6 separate regions of the Homo sapiens genome follow, and regions 2, 3, 4, 5 and 6 are each linked to region 1. Evidence: promoter capture Hi-C in 16 types of primary human blood cells and fetal thymus (Javierre and others, 2016). All regions are on one chromosome and are shown on one strand. Each heading gives the region's core, a stretch centred on a gene start or on the middle of the fragment in contact. The rest is flanking DNA. Distances are from core to core; before and after follow the strand shown. Region 1 holds the start of MTDH (metadherin). Region 2 holds the start of SLC25A32 (solute carrier family 25 member 32). Region 3 overlaps ATP6V1C1 (ATPase H+ transporting V1 subunit C1). Region 4 holds the start of AZIN1 (antizyme inhibitor 1). Region 5 has its middle 7.1 kb from the start of GASAL1. Region 6 overlaps KLF10 (KLF transcription factor 10).

Region 1 (2,791 bases), core at 124-2,623:
TCGCCTTAGCTCTTTCTCACAGGACCATACACCTCAAAGCGTATTAGGTAACCGACCCCCTCTTGCCTTGCTCCCGTTCCGGCCTCTGTTGGCCACATTTGCCAGAACAAGAATGGGCAACCATTTCCCTTTAACAGTCCCAACTAAAATGGAAGCGCGTCTAGACCTGGACACCTTTAATCCTGTGTAAGCCCCAGAATTTCTAGGTCACCGCACTTCTTCCACTGCCTACTGTCTCAATGTGACTTGAGATAGACATCTGTCTTCCGAGCGCAGTCTTTATACAACTTCCTAACACCACCTTAAGGTCCCATTACGCTCCACATGCAGCCTACTCTGCAGGCCTCAAGGAAGGATGCTGTGCTTATTCTAGCGGTGACGGTTCCCAAAGATGGCTTGACCTCTGGGCGCCTATCTGAACGGACCCCCAGACCTCCTAACTTCCTTCCTCGAAACTGGGCTTCCCCACTCGTCCTATACTTCCTGAGTTCCCCCCATTCCCCAAATAACATGACCACCTATCACCTCCTCCTCCACTTGGGAGTGCTGCCTCTCGGCTTTCGACTAAGCACTCTTTTCCTTCCCGGCTGGGGCGCGGCCTCCCCCAAGCTCGAGGGTCTCCACGCCCGCCCTTCGCCCGTTCTCTACTGCCGCTCATCCCATACTCACTTTGGGCTTCTCGGACAGTTTCTTCCGGTTCTTCTTCTTCTGTTCCTCGCTCCGGAGATTCTTCAGCAAGGCCAGGTCGTCGGGGGCCGCGGCCGGCACGGCCGCCGCCTCCTCCCGCTTGCGGGGCGGGCTCCTCCGCTTTTTGCGGGCGCCGGCGCAAGCCGCGGCCCAGCCGTAGCCCAGCAGAAACAGCAGCAGCAGCCCGAGCGCGCCAGTGCCCACCAGGATCACCCAGCCGGGGTACCGTTTCGGCTCCAGCCCCAGGTCGAGGCCCAGCTCGGTGCGCAGAAAGCCTAGGCCGACCGAGAGCATTTCCCGCAGCCGGGCCGAGCCCTCCTCGGCCTGCTGGGCCAGCTCGTCCTGCCAGCTCCGTGCAGCCATCTTCCCTCCCGTCAGAGGGACTCGCAGGATGACGCCGGGGCGCGGAGACGCAGTGGAATAGTCGAGGGAAGCGAGGAAGGGCCGGGCCGGGTAACCTCAGGCCGAGCGCATCGCGGCCGTCCCTCGCGCCGGAGCCGGGGATCGGCCGCTGCCACCGCGGGGAGGGCGGAGGGGTCTCCCAGGTTCCCCGCTGTCAGCCTCACTCCGCCGCCGCCAGGAGACCCGGGAGGCGGGAGGGAGTGTCTCCAGTGGCGGCCGCTAAGCGGCGTCTCGGCGCCAGCGCCAGGCCCCGCTGTCCTCCCTCGGCGGAACAATGGCGGCTTGGGCCGCGATCCACGCCGCGCGCGGGGACGACCGTGGGTCACGTGGGCGCCAGTGGGCGGGGCGTGGGCGTCACGTGGGGGCGGGCGGGGTCGGGTGGGGCAAAGGCGTGTCAGGGAAGGTTGGCGGTGGTCGGTTCGGGCCTGGTTAAGACGCGGCGTTGGGGACCCGTTACTGTAGACCAGAAGCTGGGAGGGGTTAATTGGTGGACGCCTTCGCGGGGTGGCTGGTGGCGCAGAGTTAGGAGACGTGGCGCAACGAATGAGTACAGAGGAGGGGCTCCGTGCAAGGCGGGGGCGGGCGGGGGGCGGGTAGGGCTGCAGCGCTAGGAACCGGGTCACCGGGTCTAGGTCAAAGTCGCCCTGGCAGGTATAGGGCTCTTCATGCCTTTTTCTGGAGTGTTATTGAGGTGGAATCGCTTTTTCTCCCTGGTGGCGCCAGTTGGATCCTTCCAGAATGAGCTCAACGGAGTCTGACGCCGAACACTGTTCTTCCGGGACCTAGGTTTAGTTCACAAATTGGGTATTTCTCTCCAGGGTGTTTCTCTCCAGGGCAACTAATACACTGCGTGCCTACCAGTTGCCAGCCTGGCGAGGGCACGTTTGCGTCGTTTGGCTCATTCACTCTTGCTCTCTGTTGTTAGTCCCCAGAATTCAAAAGTTGGAAAGCCCGTGGGCGGCACTATTCTTTTCCTACTAATTTGTAGCTTTAATAACACATAAGGGGAAGCACATTAGATTGTATTTACTTATGGAGGGAGCTTTCTCGTTACGTTTTATTTTAAGCTTTTCTACAACACTGCAAAAGGGGTTTGCAAAAATTCCATTTTTATATGCTATGTTGACCATCTCTGGGATGCAGCTATAGAAGGAAACGAACTGCCTTTTCAAATTTTTTTTTTTTGAGACAAGAGTCTCGCTCTGTCGCCCGGGCTGGAGTGCAGTGGCACTATCTCCGCTCACTGCAAGGTCCGCCTCCTGGGTTCAAGCCATTCTCCTGCCTCAGCCTCCCGAGCAGCTGGGACTATAGGCACCCACCACCACGCCCGGCTAATTTTTTGTATTTTTAGTAGAGACGGGGTTTCACCGTGTTAGCCAGGATGGTCTTGATCTCCTGACCTCGTGATCCGCCCACCTCAGCCTCCCAAAGTGCTGGGATTACAGGCGTGAGCCACCACGCCAGGCCTTCAGGTTTTAATTATAAGGGAAATGCTTGAAGGCTGCCTTAGGGTTTTAAGATTATATTTTGCTATAAGGAAACTCTGTATTTTATCGGTAAATGATCATTAGCGTGTAAGCAACTGTCTTAAGTGAACTAAATACAGGCTTTCTCAAGGAATACAGCAGGGGTAATATTAATAACCACCAAATACCAAAAATGTATTTTGACCTATTTTGCAACAGTGTCGTAATGCATATTG
Region 2 (2,791 bases), core at 151-2,650, 5.8 Mb before region 1:
AGATGACTGAAACGCACTGAGATTTGCAAGGGTGAATACTAAACCACTTGTGGGAAACGTAGTGACTGACTAAAGTGGCAAGGAAGGTGGGACCAGAGATTCAAGGACTGGGAACGATGCCAAATCCAAGTGACAAATCTAATTTATATTTTAGAAACATTACTGCCTTGTGACAAACTGTAAACATCTTTTGAGCAGAGACTTATTAGCAATGCTCACACACATGTTGATAATATCTCCTACTCAACCAAAATAGTGAAATACTGTTTTCGCCTCATCTCATCTCGCTTACTCCTCATTCAAACTAATGACACAGCCCTTCTTTCTATGCCTTAGGTTCATTCCTGCCTGAAGACCTTTGCTCCTGTTATTCTCTTTATTTAGAACAATCTGCTTACGCATGGTTGGTCCCTTGTCATTTAGGTATCACAAAGTACAATTTATAAGTGGTTAGCATGTTAACGGGGGAACAGACCAGGAAGGATAAATTAATTTCATTTAACCATTCTTTCATCAAACTTCTTAAGGGATGGTAAGAGAAAACTGATGCTTTTAAATTCATCTTTGTCTCTTCCAACATCCACAACTAATGTGAAGTAGTAAAGCGGCAAGAAGAGCAGTAGGAAGGTTTTAAAAGCCTGTTTAACTCTCAGCCCTTCAACCCACGAGTTTGGCTCATTCAAGTCCACTTTTCAGTAATAGGAACCTGAAGACAATCCCAGAGCAGCAGCTGGAATTTTTCTCCACTATAGACAACTGTTTCCCACTCACCACTAGAGGAAATTCTTAGAAAAAGGACTTGAACAGACTTTACTTGCTATCCATCCAGTTCCGCAGCGACTCCGTAAGCACAAAGTTTGCCTTAGCGAAAGGTAACTGAGAAAGAACCAGACCAGAGTGCCAGCCTCCCCCGGCTTTACTCCGCGAAAGCCGAGGCTAGACCCAACGACTTGCGGAAACCGTCCCTTTCTCCCTACCAACTTATCTTACCTCTCTGTAAGTCCAACTTGGTTTCGCGGACATAATTGTCCGGATTCCGGCTCAGCATCTTCACCTTCATCTCGGTTGCTCTTCCGGCCGGACTCCACGAGGTGTCCGCTAGGAGTTCCGCCCACCGCCACCTCCTCCCACAGGCGACTTCCGCTTTTCCCAGACTACTTCCAGTCACGTGACTCGCGGAGCGGCGGCCTGCTGGCTCAACTGGATCCTGCGCCGCTCCGTAGTTTTGCCGGCAAACGTTAGCAAGGGGCGGTTCTTTAGCTGTGCAGTCGCTTCCGCGTCCGTGGGCTGGAGCATTTGTGGGCGAGGCAGGGCGGAGACTCGGGAGAGGCTGGGACCTCCCCTCCATCGCGCTTTCCGCCGGCGTGACGTAGTGTCTGTGCCCCGTTCTTGCCCCCTCAGTACTAGAGTCTCCGGCTTCGCTCACGCGCCTTGGGCATAAGAGTCCTCTCGTTGGTCCCGGAGGTGGGGTTGCGCTCACAAGGGGCGACCGTCGCCACGGTGGCGGCCACTGCATCGCGTCCCACCTCCGCGGCCCTGGGCGCCGTGGTGTCGACGGGCCCCGAGCCTATGACGGGCCAGGGCCAGTCGGCGTCCGGGTCGTCGGCGTGGAGCACGGTATTCCGCCACGTCCGGTATGAGAACCTGATAGCGGGCGTGAGCGGCGGCGTCTTATCCAACCTTGCGCTGCATCCGCTCGACCTCGTGAAGATCCGCTTCGCCGGTAAGAGCCCGCCCAGACACCGGGCTGCATCCTCTCACTGTCAGCCCGAACTGGATCTCCTCCGTCTTTTCCGTTCTAGGGGGAGGAGGAGCGTTGAAGGGAGCGTTGCTGTCCGCGTTGGCTAACCTGAACTAGATTTGAGGAAATGGTGCTTGGTGGAGGGGTCGGCCTGCGATCTTCCCCGCTCCTCAAGACTAAGAGAGGGGGCATGTATGTAGAGAAGTCTGAGAAAAAACATCCTCATTGGCAGAGAAGATGGGATTCAAAGCCTGATTTGTAAAATAAAGAAGGGATTGTCACATTTTAAGGTTTAGTCCTCACACGTGCAAATCATTCACTCTTGGAGGAACTTTGAAATCTTAGCATACCCACGTGGTTTGGCAGCTCGACTAGTATTGGGATAGGGCGTAATCTTCAGCGAATGGTTGGGAGTAGATTTAGAATAGAATTCTCTTGAATGTTTGTTTTTTGGCATTTGTAGAATGGTACAAGTTTCTGTGAAAAAATAGCTAGAATCGAAATACTATTTTAAGTGTATTAGATGAATTGAGTATGTTGAAATTAACAAAGCATTTTAGAAGTTAAACTCAACACTAAAGTCTGGAAAGAGTTTCAAAGATGATCTTTGATAACTGAAATTGCAGAAAATAGTTTCCAAATAAAGTTATTACAAGTTAAGTTCAGCCTTGAGAATTAAATCTACAGAAGTTGTTTATTTTAGCATTAGGCAATTCAGTTCACTTGATTTATATTCTCTTAATATTTGTAGACTGCTGTATGGGCTACAGAAGTATCTAATAAAGTTCTTGCCTTCAGGGAACTTAGAATTTAATTGTAGGCGTTAGACTTAGTCATATAAAAGGTAATTCTAGACAACATAAAATCAAGAAATACAAAAACAAAATATAAATACAGGTAAACCGTTAAGAAAATTCTACATTACTGATGGCCATGTGTATCTTTAAGGTTCAGTGGAAGATTGGGGCTTGGGGTTTCCCATAGAAGGGCTAATATTTTGACAGCTGGAGAGGAAGCAAGAACCCGTTCTATGAAGGAAAATCATCGAAA
Region 3 (2,791 bases), core at 134-2,633, 5.4 Mb before region 1:
TCTCCAACTCATGACCCTAAGTAAGCTTGAGATTCTGTTTACTGGTAACAACTATCACTGAATATGTACCACATGTTGTGCCCAGTGATAAGCACTTGCATCTACTAAAGCAATTTTGTATTTAATTCCCTCACAAGATGTGTTATCACCACCCCCACTTGCAAATGAGGGAACAGCTGGTGAAATTAGTTGCCCAAAGACATTTAGTGACTACATTTTATTGGGATTAAGGGGACTCTATTTGAGTTATTCATGCAGTTTTACAAAAGACAAGTGCCTCAAAGAAATATTAGGATATAGTTTCAGTAATTTTACACTAAAGGAGTTACATTAAAACATCAAACACTAGATTTTAAATTACTTGAATTCCATTATATGCAGTTTATTAAAATATTACTTTTAACCTCTGTAACCTCAACATCTTAATATTTGTCCAACAAATAAACTGACACCACATGCATGTTTTGCACCAAATGGTGCCTCTCTCCTCCAGGAGGAGTCTGGAAATGTATGGGAGCATTTTGGGTTGTCCCAATGTGGAGATCGCTAATCAGCATTTAGTGGGTAGGGGCGAAACAGACCTCCAAACTGCCAATAGCACCCACATAGAAACACTAAACTATGGGCTGATTCAAAAGGAAAACCTTTCATGGTAAAGTTAAACCACCTGTTAACACGCCTTAATTTACAACTTCCTATTCATTGATAGTCTGTTTAAAATATCTTAGAAGATCCATCGATCCCTTTCTATAAAACATCACTTACCTAGCATTTTATTTTCAAATACACACACATACTCACACAGACACACACACACACACCCCACATTTTAGATATACAGTTAATACTCTTTTATCCCCGATGTAACCAAAGCACTTCTCCTCCACTGCCTACCTGGCTCATTTTTTAACTCAATAAATGCATAGTAACCAAAGCACCTCTCCTCCACTGCCTACCTGGCTCATTTTTTTAACTCAATAAACGCATAGTACATTTGCACATGGTATAATCTTAGAAGTAGATGTCCTGCTGGATAAAAAATTTTGTTTCAGCATCAAGAATATAGTTTGAAATTTCTAGTTCCAAGAATCACTCATGTCAATAGGAAATTTTAGACTGCCTTGGTTCACTGCCTAAGCGTCCCAAGGGCACTATGCTAATGTTTATACTATGTCTGTCTTTAAAAATTGATGAAAAATGGAAATCTAACATGAATTAATTTATAAATGATATATAATTCCACACCCAAAGAGTGAAAAAGATGTAACCTGTAGACAGATTTAAATATGTACAAGAGCAAAATTTTAAGTAGGAGGTACTCAGTCAAAACTGTAGTACTCCTAAGCAGAACCAAGTTCAAAAGAAGACTTGCTGCTTAGGGACGGGTAAACTACATGGAGACCTTTGGCAAAGGTTTACTTTGGCATTCCAGTTGGCCAATGGTATTATCTCGTGAGTTGTGGAAATAATCACAAAATCAGATTTTTGAAGCCCTGAAGTTTCTTTTTAGGTTGAAAAAACTAATGTACATGAGGCTCCTAAGACTAATATACCAAAAAAATAAAAATGAGTATTTTGTGCCAAGTTTTAAAAGCTGAATTACACTATCTAGCTCTCAGCATTTAGTTAGATCCTGAGTACTGTTTCTTTAGATTTTATCTAGTCCCTACAAGGTATACCAAAAGAGAAAAAGATCCAGGACTTCTGAGACAGAACCCTGAGGCTCAGTCTTCAGCATAATTTGAGACTCACTTTTTGCCAAAGAACTGTGATTGACAACCTGAGCACTTTCAGTTCACCTTATTGTTCATTATTTCCTCCAGATGAACTGTAAATTGAACAGCTCTATCCAAGATTATAGATAAGACATAGCCCACCACTGCCAATTCCTTTGAAGCTGTTCTACTAGAAAAAGTTCATCAAAAGTGCTGACTCTTCAGGGAGAAGTTCCCCCCCCCCAAAAAAAAATGCTGAATCAAAGACTACTGTGCACTTCAAAAAACTCGCCCTTTTCTCTAGATGTGACTGTGGTTAGTACTGTGTAGGTAATCAGCAGGAATACATCAGCAGTCAGAAAACTGTGGCAGTTACTCCGGACTCAGCCAAATCACTTTACGTGTTTCTCTAGCTCCAGGTTCCCATCTATACAATGAATAGCATTTTCATCCACTGTCTTTCAAAGAACTGTGAGAACAAAATAAATATGAAAGTGATCCCTCCCTGTAACTATATTTCAATAAAAGATATTCTGAAATAGATGACCTTACAAAAGGATAAATTTGAAAAGCCAAAACAAATTTTTGCAAAAGAGCCTCTGCTATGTACTTCAGGACTGCCTCGAGGGTAGTTACGACTACCCTGTGAAGGGTACAAATAGAATCGAATCATTCTTTCCCTTCCCCAAGTCCTGAACCCTCTAAAAGTGAATACAGTTAAACATTCTGAAGTCCTCAGTGGAGAGAGAAGGTATCTTGTCTTCAAATCCTTCAGTGGATTACAACAATGTTCCCCTGAGCGGGTCTCCCCTCATTCACTTTTGCCACCCTCCACATTATCTCCCCCCCACCAAAAAAAAAAAAAAAAAGCCACAACCTGTCTCAATCCACTGCCTGTAATCTTCACTGGCTTCCCTCTGTTTTTAGAATAAAAGCTCTGCTTGGCGTGACCCCAGCTTTCTCCACCTGCCTCTCTCCCTCCCCGTTTCAGCCATGCTAGCCTTTCAAAAAGGCTGAAAAGCTTTCTTCCTCTTCACATTTCAGGGCCTTGACATACGCTGTTGCTTCAGCCTGAA
Region 4 (2,791 bases), core at 90-2,589, 5.2 Mb before region 1:
GTTTTCAAATGTTCTGAATAGAACAGAACTTTGAAGAAATAAAAGACAGAGCCAAGATATAGCCGAGCAAAATAAGGAAAAACAAAATCAGGAATGCGTCCACAGCTCCTGATTCTACCGAATACTCTCTCATACAGCCTCGCAAGATACCCTGCTTTTCCACACAGGAAGGTCGCTTTCTTCCTTTCACATTTGATGATTTATTAATCAACCACAGTGCTGCTCAAAGTACACAGAGGGTTCGGAAGAATGAAAGGGAAAAAAGTCAGGGTCTTAATATCAAAGATCTTAACTTCAGAGGGGTGTGTCAACACATATTCCATTTGTGCTATGTGTTGCGAAGCGTAGCAGCACGAGAGAACTCGGGGTCTCTGATCATGATCATTAGTGCTGAGGCATCTAAAAAAGATGAAAATAAATTAAAAGCTATGTAGGTAATCTTAGAACCCCTAGTAAAAAAAAGTCTGTTGTGGAGTAGAAAAATTAAAACGACCGCGAAAATGAGACCTAGGGGATTGAAGTAATGTGCGCTTGTAACATCAGTAATCCCCTCTCCAACGCGGGTCCTGCTTGGGACTGACTCCACCAATCCTTTTAAAAATGAAGACATAAAAGCCATATTCCTTTAAAAAATTTCCACTGCACCGTATTGCAACGTTCGAGCACTGAGGACATTTTCACGTGGTCACAACCCTTTTTAACACCCGGACACTGGGCCGGTCCTTTCTGGCCACGAGGAACTCGCTTCCCTAAAGGAGTACCGCATCACCGAGGGCGGGCGCCTCAGCCCGGGAGGACACTCCCCAGGGTAAACTACAGGCCTCACAAAGCGGAGGGAGCTGGACGCGAAGGCTCGGCAGCGGCGCCGACAGGCTTACCCCAGGCCCACTCTAGGCCGCACAGGGTTCGCGCCACCTCCGGCCCAGGACAGCTCTCAGACGCTGCCAGCGTGGAGCTCGACCCGGCTCACAATGCGCTGGGCCCCGCAGCGTGAGCGCAGGCGCCCGAGAGGCGGCGGGGGTCGGGCGGACGGCGCGCTCCAGCCGAGCCGCCTCCCTCTCTCGGCCCACACCCGCGCGGCCGCCCTTCGCCTGCCGGGGAGCTGCGGGTGGCTGGAGGGCGGGAAGCGACCGGCCAGTCTGCACCTGCATGACCCGGTCGCGCGCCGACCCCTCCCCTCTCTCTCCCGGGCTCAGTCCTCCTTCCTCTTCCGTCCCCCTCCCTTTTCTCCGGGCTGCAACCGGGTTCCGCCCCGCTCGCGCGGCTGCCCGGCCAGCTGTGATGTCACCAGGCCACGCCCCCTAATATAAATACTGGCGTCGCTGGCGCCGCCTTCTCACACTTTCAGGCTCTGATCGCGGCCGCAGTTTTTCCTTTTTTCTTCTGCCGTCGCCTTCTCTGCCTCTTCTCATCCTTTCTCGCTCTGCTGCTCTGCAGTGTGACGAGTCCGAATCCTCTTCCCACCCAGCCCGCGCCTTTCTTCTTTTGCCTGCGCTGTTCTATTTCTCCTTCGGCCGCCGCCGCCACTGCTGCACACAGCTGGTGTCGGTGCCGCGCTTTTACCCCCAAGTCGTTCCCGCAGCCTATGGCCCAGGCCGCCTTGGGTATTTCTGCTCAAGGTAACCACATCCCTCTTTAAAAATTCCGCCGAAAAAGAGAAGACGCTTTACCCGACTCTTTGGGCCGTTATCTCACGTGAGTACCGAGCCGAGGAGCGCGGGAGGGGCCAGGACGCGGGGCTGGCCTTGGGGGGCGGCTGGGGGGCTCCGGCTGGGCCCCGCCGCCCTTAAGACGTCCCCGCAGCGCCCCGCGGCCGGCCGCCTCGAACATGGCGGCGGCGGCTGTCTGTGCCCCCGGCGGCGGCGGCGGCGGCGGGGCTGGGCGGCGGGCCGCGCCTCAGGACCTTCGGGCGGCTGCTGGACGCTTGGCGGAGCCGGAGCCGCAGCAGTTGGGGCGAGGGGGCGTGTGCCAGTGGGGGAGCGCGCGGGGGTCTCGCCGCCGGGGGTCGCCGTCCCCTCCTGGCGGCGTGCGGCCCCCACCCCTCTCCCGTGGTGCATTGCTGTTTCCGGGGAGGGGGCCCGGCCGCAGCCCTGAGGGGCCGGGGTCCCGCAGCCCCTACTCCGCGGTGCGCCGCCGCCACCTTTGCCTCCCGAAGCCCGGCGGGCGGGCGGCGCTGTGGGCTGCAACGGCTGGGGTCCTGGTTATGAATGGAGCGGGGCGGGCCCCGCGCCGGCCTCTGGTGACAGCTGCGGAGGAAGTCGGATTCCTGGGGGGCGCGGGGAGCGCGGTCCCCCTCTGGTGGAGGAAAGTTGACGCCACTTGGGGCCTGGCGGCGGGGAAGCCCCGGTGTCAGGTAGCCAGCGAGAGGCTTTTGGCCCCTTCTGGAAGCCTCGAGGCTGCTGCTCCGCCCCTGCGGCGCTCCTGATTGGGTCAAGTCGCCTTCACTCACCCCAGTCACCTCCTGGAGCCTGAGGATTAGTCACCATGGCTTCGTTTTTCCGTCCGCGCCATGGTTCCTAGGCAGAAAGAGGGAGATTGGTAGACGGGTGGCTTATCAACTACTGTCTTGACTGCCAACAGTTGGTGGTGGTAACATGTTCTAACCCTTACACGGTATCCTGAATGTGTGTTTCGTAGACAAAGCTGCTGGTTCAGAAACCCGAAACAGTCGGGGACACAGTTTACCGCCTCATGTTTCAGCACATTTAACTGAATTTTGTGGTGGCATCTTGGTTATATTAGTTCTGTGTCCCGTCGTGTTTCTATCGTGAATTCCCAGACTGGGTGGGAA
Region 5 (2,791 bases), core at 84-2,583, 5.2 Mb before region 1:
GAGATAGGCCTGCCCCACTCCATCACAACGGCTGGCACCGCAGGCGATCCGACACATTAGGTGAGACTGTCTCTTCATATCCCTCATATCTGGGATGCTACGCTGGGCAGGCATCAACAGCTGTAATGCCCACGCAACCCCAGTCACTTACCAAGCAACCACAGCTTGTTCTGTGCCCCAAAAATCCCCAGCTCTGGCCGGGCACAGTGGCTCACGCCTGTAATTCCAGCACTTTGGGAGAGCGAGGAGGGGTGATTGCTTGAGGCCAGGGGTTTGAGACCAGCCTGGGCAACACAGCAAGACCCCATCTCTAATATATATATATAAGATTATACATATATGTATAAGATTATATATATATGATTTTACATATATATAGATTATATATTAGATTATATATATGATTATATATTAGATTATATATATGATTATATATATATATTAGATTATATATATATTATCTGCAGGGATCTATTTATATATATTATTTATATATATTACATATTTTATATATATATACAAAAATAAAAAATTAGCCAGGCATGGTGGGACATGCCTATAGTCCCAGCTCAGAGTTCCCTTCGAGGCTTGTTTTCTACGCTGCAGAGCAGAATGCCCGAGGCAATTAGGCTGAATGCTGTCCCTGGCAGATGTGGCTGGCTGGCCATCTTGGTCCTAGACCTCTGGGCACCGAGTGTAGACTTCTCACCCGGCAGAGCTGCCGCTCAGAGCTCAGGGCTTGGCCGACACTGACAGATTGTACCACTAGATGACGCTTGTGGATTACATTTGCTATAGTGCCTTGGAAGTTGCAGCAAACAATTGCTGAGTTTCCCACTGTTCAGAGTTGATTTCACATAGTATTAAGCTTTTATGTTCTATCACACTTCTGAGTGTCACAAGTGTCCCCGGTTCCCTGACCTTTGCATCTCTACATCCCTGCCCCTAGTCCTTTGTGGAGGAGCCAGGAGGAAGAAGGGATTCCTGCCTCACTTTCCCTCCCGTTTCCAAAGCCCTCCTCCCCCAACCGCCCTCCCCCTCCCTCAGTAGCAACAGCCTTTGACTCTCCAAGTCCCCAGCAAAGTACAGTACAGGCTGGCAGTGGGGATTTGGGAGGATGTTCCAGAAGACCCCAGCTCAAGTGTAGGGATTGTTAAATGTTTAGTTCAAGCCATGGCTGTTCCAGGTGGGCCACCAACTCCTTCAAGTCGGAGACGTCAGGCCCACTAAGGATGTGCCTATGGCCACAAAATGCCAAGTTTGCTTACTTTGATGCATCAAAGGAACCCACATGTTGGGTGAGCCTTCGGAGCCACTCAATAAAAGGGTTAGGAAGGGTTTTTTGTAGGGTCAGGTTGTTGAGGTGGGCTTACCTGGTTAGGGTTGGTTGGTTGGAAGAAAGGGGGCCTTGGCTGATTCATTCAGGCTCAAAGCAGGGATCTTTTTATCTGTAGGAGGCAGTTCCCCTGTGGCTTTGAGAAACATTGCTTTGTGACTTTGTGGGTCTATTTTTGTGTTTTAGAAGTTAAGATCTTGAGGTGGCAGTCAACTGGTTTCTCAGAGACCAAGTCTTAAACGTGCTTGTAACCCACAGTGAGTCCAGCTGGGTGTTTTGCAAGCAAATTTTTTTGTTTGTATAGTTTTTTTTAGCAATGGGGTTTCACTATGTTTCCAAGGCTGGTCTGAAACACCTGGGCTCAAGCCATCTTCCCACCTCAGCCTTCTGAGTAGCTGAGACTACAGGCACATACCAGCTACAAGCAGGTTTTGAATGTGTTTTTTTCTCCAAGAAGCTTTCTGATTTACACCTAAGATAGGGATTCACCAATTCACCAACGTGAGACATTGCGTCTCTGTCCTCCACCTTCCTAAGATACCTAGCTTTGTGCGTGTGTGTGTGTGTGTGTGTGTGTGTGTGTGTGAGAGAGAGAGAGAGAGAGAGAGAGAGAGATGCATTTATCCTCCCCGTTTGCAAGTGAATTTTCCCATGAGGTATCACCCTTTGGCATAGTCCTCCATTTGGACTGGGTGAGGTGGCGCTTCCTTTTCTTTGTCTTACACTGAGCTTTGACATTAGAATATTTTGTCCTTTGGCCCCAACTTTACTTAATTTGATGACACTCCCTCTGCAAGGGTCATTATGCTTCTGACCTCTCTCTGCCAGCCCAAACCCAGTCCAGGCCAAGCCTGTGGTCATGGTATCTGTGACTATGATCACATCCCTTCCTGTTCCTGTTGGCTATCACAGCCTCATTCTTGGTACTGGATAGCTTCCAGCTGTCCTGCCACCCACCATCCACCCTGCTCTGCACCTGGAGGCTGATGTTCACAGACTGCCTCAATGCTTCCCCTGCCTCTTTGCTTTGTGGTCAAGCAAAGTGGAGCGGAGAAGCCTGGGGGAGGATAGTGGGGTCAGGGTAGTCCTTCCTGGGCTCATTTCCTGTCCAGTTGCCTCTGGCGGGCTGAATCTCCCAGCAGAGGCTGGAGCCCTTGAAGGGGCCCTGCACCTAGCTTGCCCTCTCTCTCTAGGTCTGGTTAACCGCTCCCTCCTCTTGCCTTTCCCCTTTGGCTCCCGGGAACTGGACCATCCCCTGGCTATCCTACACCTTGTCCACACCCTTGAGCATGCCACCTGCTCCCTGTTTTGACCCTGCTGACAGGTCTTTTCAGTCTCGCTCTTCTCCCAGGCTGGAGTGCAGTGGTGAGATCTCAGCTCACTGCAACCTCCACCTCCCAGTTTCAAGTGATTCACCTGTCTCAGCCTCCCAAGTAGCTGGGATTACAGGCTCCC
Region 6 (2,791 bases), core at 159-2,658, 5.0 Mb before region 1:
TGAACTTCCTTAGTATCATAGTAAGTGTGAGAGGAAAATTATTTCTGATTTTAATTTGGAAAGTTGTGTGAGTTGTAAAAAAAAAAAAAAAAAAAATTTGCTCATTTTTCTGTGTGTCATTTGGATGACAAAAAATATGCTTATAAGCTTTCCTCTTTTGTTTTTATAGGAGGAAAGAATGGAAATGATTTCTGAAAGGCCAAAAGAGAGTATGTATTCCTGGAACAAAACTGCAGAGAAAAGTGATTTTGAAGCTGTAGAAGCACTTATGTCAATGAGCTGCAGTTGGAAGTCTGATTTTAAGAAATACGTTGAAAACAGACCTGTTACACCAGTATCTGATTTGTCAGAGGAAGAGAATCTGCTTCCGGGAACACCTGATTTTCATACAATCCCAGCATTTGTAAGTATTATTGTTTTTAAGATAGACGTAAATTATATAATTTCTTAAAATTTATATAATAAACTGTAGATTTCTCATGCTATGTATTTCCCTTTTCTTTAGTGTTTGACTCCACCTTACAGTCCTTCTGACTTTGAACCCTCTCAAGTGTCAAATCTGATGGCACCAGCGCCATCTACTGTACACTTCAAGTCACTCTCAGATACTGCCAAACCTCACATTGCCGCACCTTTCAAAGAGGAAGAAAAGAGCCCAGTATCTGCCCCCAAACTCCCCAAAGCTCAGGCAACAAGTGTGATTCGTCATACAGCTGATGCCCAGCTATGTAACCACCAGACCTGCCCAATGAAAGCAGCCAGCATCCTCAACTATCAGAACAATTCTTTTAGAAGAAGAACCCACCTAAATGTTGAGGCTGCAAGAAAGAACATACCATGTGCCGCTGTGTCACCAAACAGATCCAAATGTGAGAGAAACACAGTGGCAGATGTTGATGAGAAAGCAAGTGCTGCACTTTATGACTTTTCTGTGCCTTCCTCAGAGACGGTCATCTGCAGGTCTCAGCCAGCCCCTGTGTCCCCACAACAGAAGTCAGTGTTGGTCTCTCCACCTGCAGTATCTGCAGGGGGAGTGCCACCTATGCCGGTCATCTGCCAGATGGTTCCCCTTCCTGCCAACAACCCTGTTGTGACAACAGTCGTTCCCAGCACTCCTCCCAGCCAGCCACCAGCCGTTTGCCCCCCTGTTGTGTTCATGGGCACACAAGTCCCCAAAGGCGCTGTCATGTTTGTGGTACCCCAGCCCGTTGTGCAGAGTTCAAAGCCTCCGGTGGTGAGCCCGAATGGCACCAGACTCTCTCCCATTGCCCCTGCTCCTGGGTTTTCCCCTTCAGCAGCAAAAGTCACTCCTCAGATTGATTCATCAAGGATAAGGAGTCACATCTGTAGCCACCCAGGATGTGGCAAGACATACTTTAAAAGTTCCCATCTGAAGGCCCACACGAGGACGCACACAGGTACCAGCCACTTCTTATATCTTTAGTGTTTAAATGAAGAGATTTTGGCTGTGATCACACATTTAAACCCAGGATGATAAGGAATAACTTGCCTTTAGCTAGTTTAGAGGATGGTATTTACCAGTGCAAGGTCCTCCAAAAGGCTGTATTGGAGGCCGCTCACGAGTGCCATAATCCTTGCACTTTAGGAGACCAAGGTGGGAGGATTGTTTGAGCATAGGAGTTCAAAACCAGCCTGTGCAACATACTGAGACCTCATCTCTACAAATAATTTAAAAATAAGTATGTAAATACTTTATTGATGTGCTTTTGTTTCAGTCTCTCAAATGATGATTCTGTAGATGTCTGAGTAGTTACTTTAATAAGGTATCTTTAAAGCCTTTGAATCATAGTTAAAGTCAGGAAGTCTTTTCATTTTTGGCTTTTTTTAAGGGATGAAAAAAAACTGCTCTGTTGCCCAAACTGGTCTCAAACTTCTGGGCTCAAGCTATCCTCCTGCCCCAGCCTTCTGAGTAGTTGGGACTACAGGTGCCTACTACTCCACCCGGCTGCCTTATTTCATGTGGGGAAGAGTTTTGTAAATGTGATCAAGTGACAAGTTGAAATTGGAGCAATACATATCTCATATTCATTTGACAGTTTGATTTATTAGCTTTTATTATTTAAAATGTATCTTCTCATATACTTTTAGACAGAATTGAACATATAATTTACGGCAATCTTATGCATAATAATGATTTGTATGTCTTTGTTTTAGGAGAAAAGCCTTTCAGCTGTAGCTGGAAAGGTTGTGAAAGGAGGTTTGCCCGTTCTGATGAACTGTCCAGACACAGGCGAACCCACACGGGTGAGAAGAAATTTGCGTGCCCCATGTGTGACCGGCGGTTCATGAGGAGTGACCATTTGACCAAGCATGCCCGGCGCCATCTATCAGCCAAGAAGCTACCAAACTGGCAGATGGAAGTGAGCAAGCTAAATGACATTGCTCTACCTCCAACCCCTGCTCCCACACAGTGACAGACCGGAAAGTGAAGAGTCAGAACTAACTTTGGTCTCAGCGGGAGCCAGTGGTGATGTAAAAATGCTTCCACTGCAAGTCTGTGGCCCCACAACGTGGGCTTAAAGCAGAAGCCCCACAGCCTGGCACGAAGGCCCCGCCTGGGTTAGGTGACTAAAAGGGCTTCGGCCACAGGCAGGTCACAGAAAGGCAGGTTTCATTTCTTATCACATAAGAGAGATGAGAAAGCTTTTATTCCTTTGAATATTTTTTGAAGGTTTCAGATGAGGTCAACACAGGTAGCACAGATTTTGAATCTGTGTGCATATTTGTTACTTTACTTTTGCTGTTTATACTTGAGACCAACTTTTCAATG

What was found. The method cuts DNA at HindIII sites, captures the fragments that hold promoters and counts their contacts. A CHiCAGO score of 5 or more calls a contact.
Region 2: a contact is called between the fragment with the promoter of SLC25A32 here and the fragment with the promoter of MTDH in region 1, in 5 of 17 cell types (total B cells, total CD4 T cells, non-activated CD4 T cells and 2 more). The highest score is 8.7, in total B cells.
Region 3: a contact is called between a fragment that was not itself captured here and the fragment with the promoter of MTDH in region 1, in 3 of 17 cell types (naive CD8 T cells, non-activated CD4 T cells and activated CD4 T cells). The highest score is 5.4, in naive CD8 T cells.
Region 4: a contact is called between the fragment with the promoter of AZIN1 here and the fragment with the promoter of MTDH in region 1, in 3 of 17 cell types (naive CD8 T cells, total CD4 T cells and non-activated CD4 T cells). The highest score is 9.5, in naive CD8 T cells.
Region 5: a contact is called between a fragment that was not itself captured here and the fragment with the promoter of MTDH in region 1, in 1 of 17 cell types (fetal thymus). The highest score is 6.2, in fetal thymus.
Region 6: a contact is called between a fragment that was not itself captured here and the fragment with the promoter of MTDH in region 1, in 4 of 17 cell types (fetal thymus, naive CD8 T cells, activated CD4 T cells and 1 more). The highest score is 7.6, in fetal thymus.

Annotation. Positions count from the first base shown.
Region 1 is chr8:97,642,766-97,645,556 of GRCh38, reverse strand. MTDH (metadherin) reads right to left here and starts at 1,373. Exons shown (of 12, transcript NM_178812.4): 1 at 670-1,373. The coding sequence starts at 1,050. RefSeq lists silencers at 244-412, 696-765, 1,036-1,495, 1,676-1,785 and enhancers at 1-542, 543-1,523. The HindIII fragment of the contact is 3,502 bases long and covers 1-2,158 here.
Region 2 is chr8:103,413,716-103,416,506 of GRCh38, reverse strand. It overlaps SLC25A32 (solute carrier family 25 member 32), which reads left to right and starts at 1,400. Exons shown (of 7, transcript NM_030780.5): 1 at 1,400-1,723. The coding sequence starts at 1,570. DCAF13 (DDB1 and CUL4 associated factor 13) reads right to left here and starts at 1,121. Exons shown (of 11, transcript NM_015420.7): 1 at 991-1,121. The coding sequence starts at 1,060. RefSeq lists enhancers at 1,040-1,379, 1,113-1,734. The HindIII fragment of the contact is 9,226 bases long and covers 1-2,791 here.
Region 3 is chr8:103,023,074-103,025,864 of GRCh38, reverse strand. All of the region lies in intron 1 of ATP6V1C1 (ATPase H+ transporting V1 subunit C1), which reads right to left. Among named protein-coding and RNA genes, the nearest start is that of ATP6V1C1, 3.4 kb to the right of the region's middle. The HindIII fragment of the contact is 2,711 bases long and covers 28-2,738 here.
Region 4 is chr8:102,862,711-102,865,501 of GRCh38, reverse strand. It overlaps AZIN1 (antizyme inhibitor 1), which reads left to right and starts at 1,339. Exons shown (of 12, transcript NM_148174.4): 1 at 1,339-1,695. It overlaps MAILR (macrophage interferon regulatory lncRNA), which reads right to left and starts at 1,231. Exons shown (of 3, transcript NR_126339.1): 1 at 879-1,231. RefSeq lists enhancers at 261-993, 2,462-2,791 and silencers at 873-1,222, 1,883-2,112. The HindIII fragment of the contact is 10,250 bases long and covers 1-2,791 here.
Region 5 is chr8:102,812,776-102,815,566 of GRCh38, reverse strand. No RefSeq gene overlaps it. Among named protein-coding and RNA genes, the nearest start is that of GASAL1, 7.1 kb to the right of the region's middle. RefSeq lists enhancers at 1,539-1,588, 1,599-1,698. The HindIII fragment of the contact is 925 bases long and covers 871-1,795 here.
Region 6 is chr8:102,649,776-102,652,566 of GRCh38, reverse strand. It overlaps KLF10 (KLF transcription factor 10), which reads left to right. Exons shown (of 4, transcript NM_005655.4): 2 at 170-403; 3 at 506-1,418; 4 at 2,176-2,791. The coding sequence ends at 2,435. Among named protein-coding and RNA genes, the nearest start is that of KLF10, 4.6 kb to the left of the region's middle. The HindIII fragment of the contact is 2,517 bases long and covers 150-2,666 here.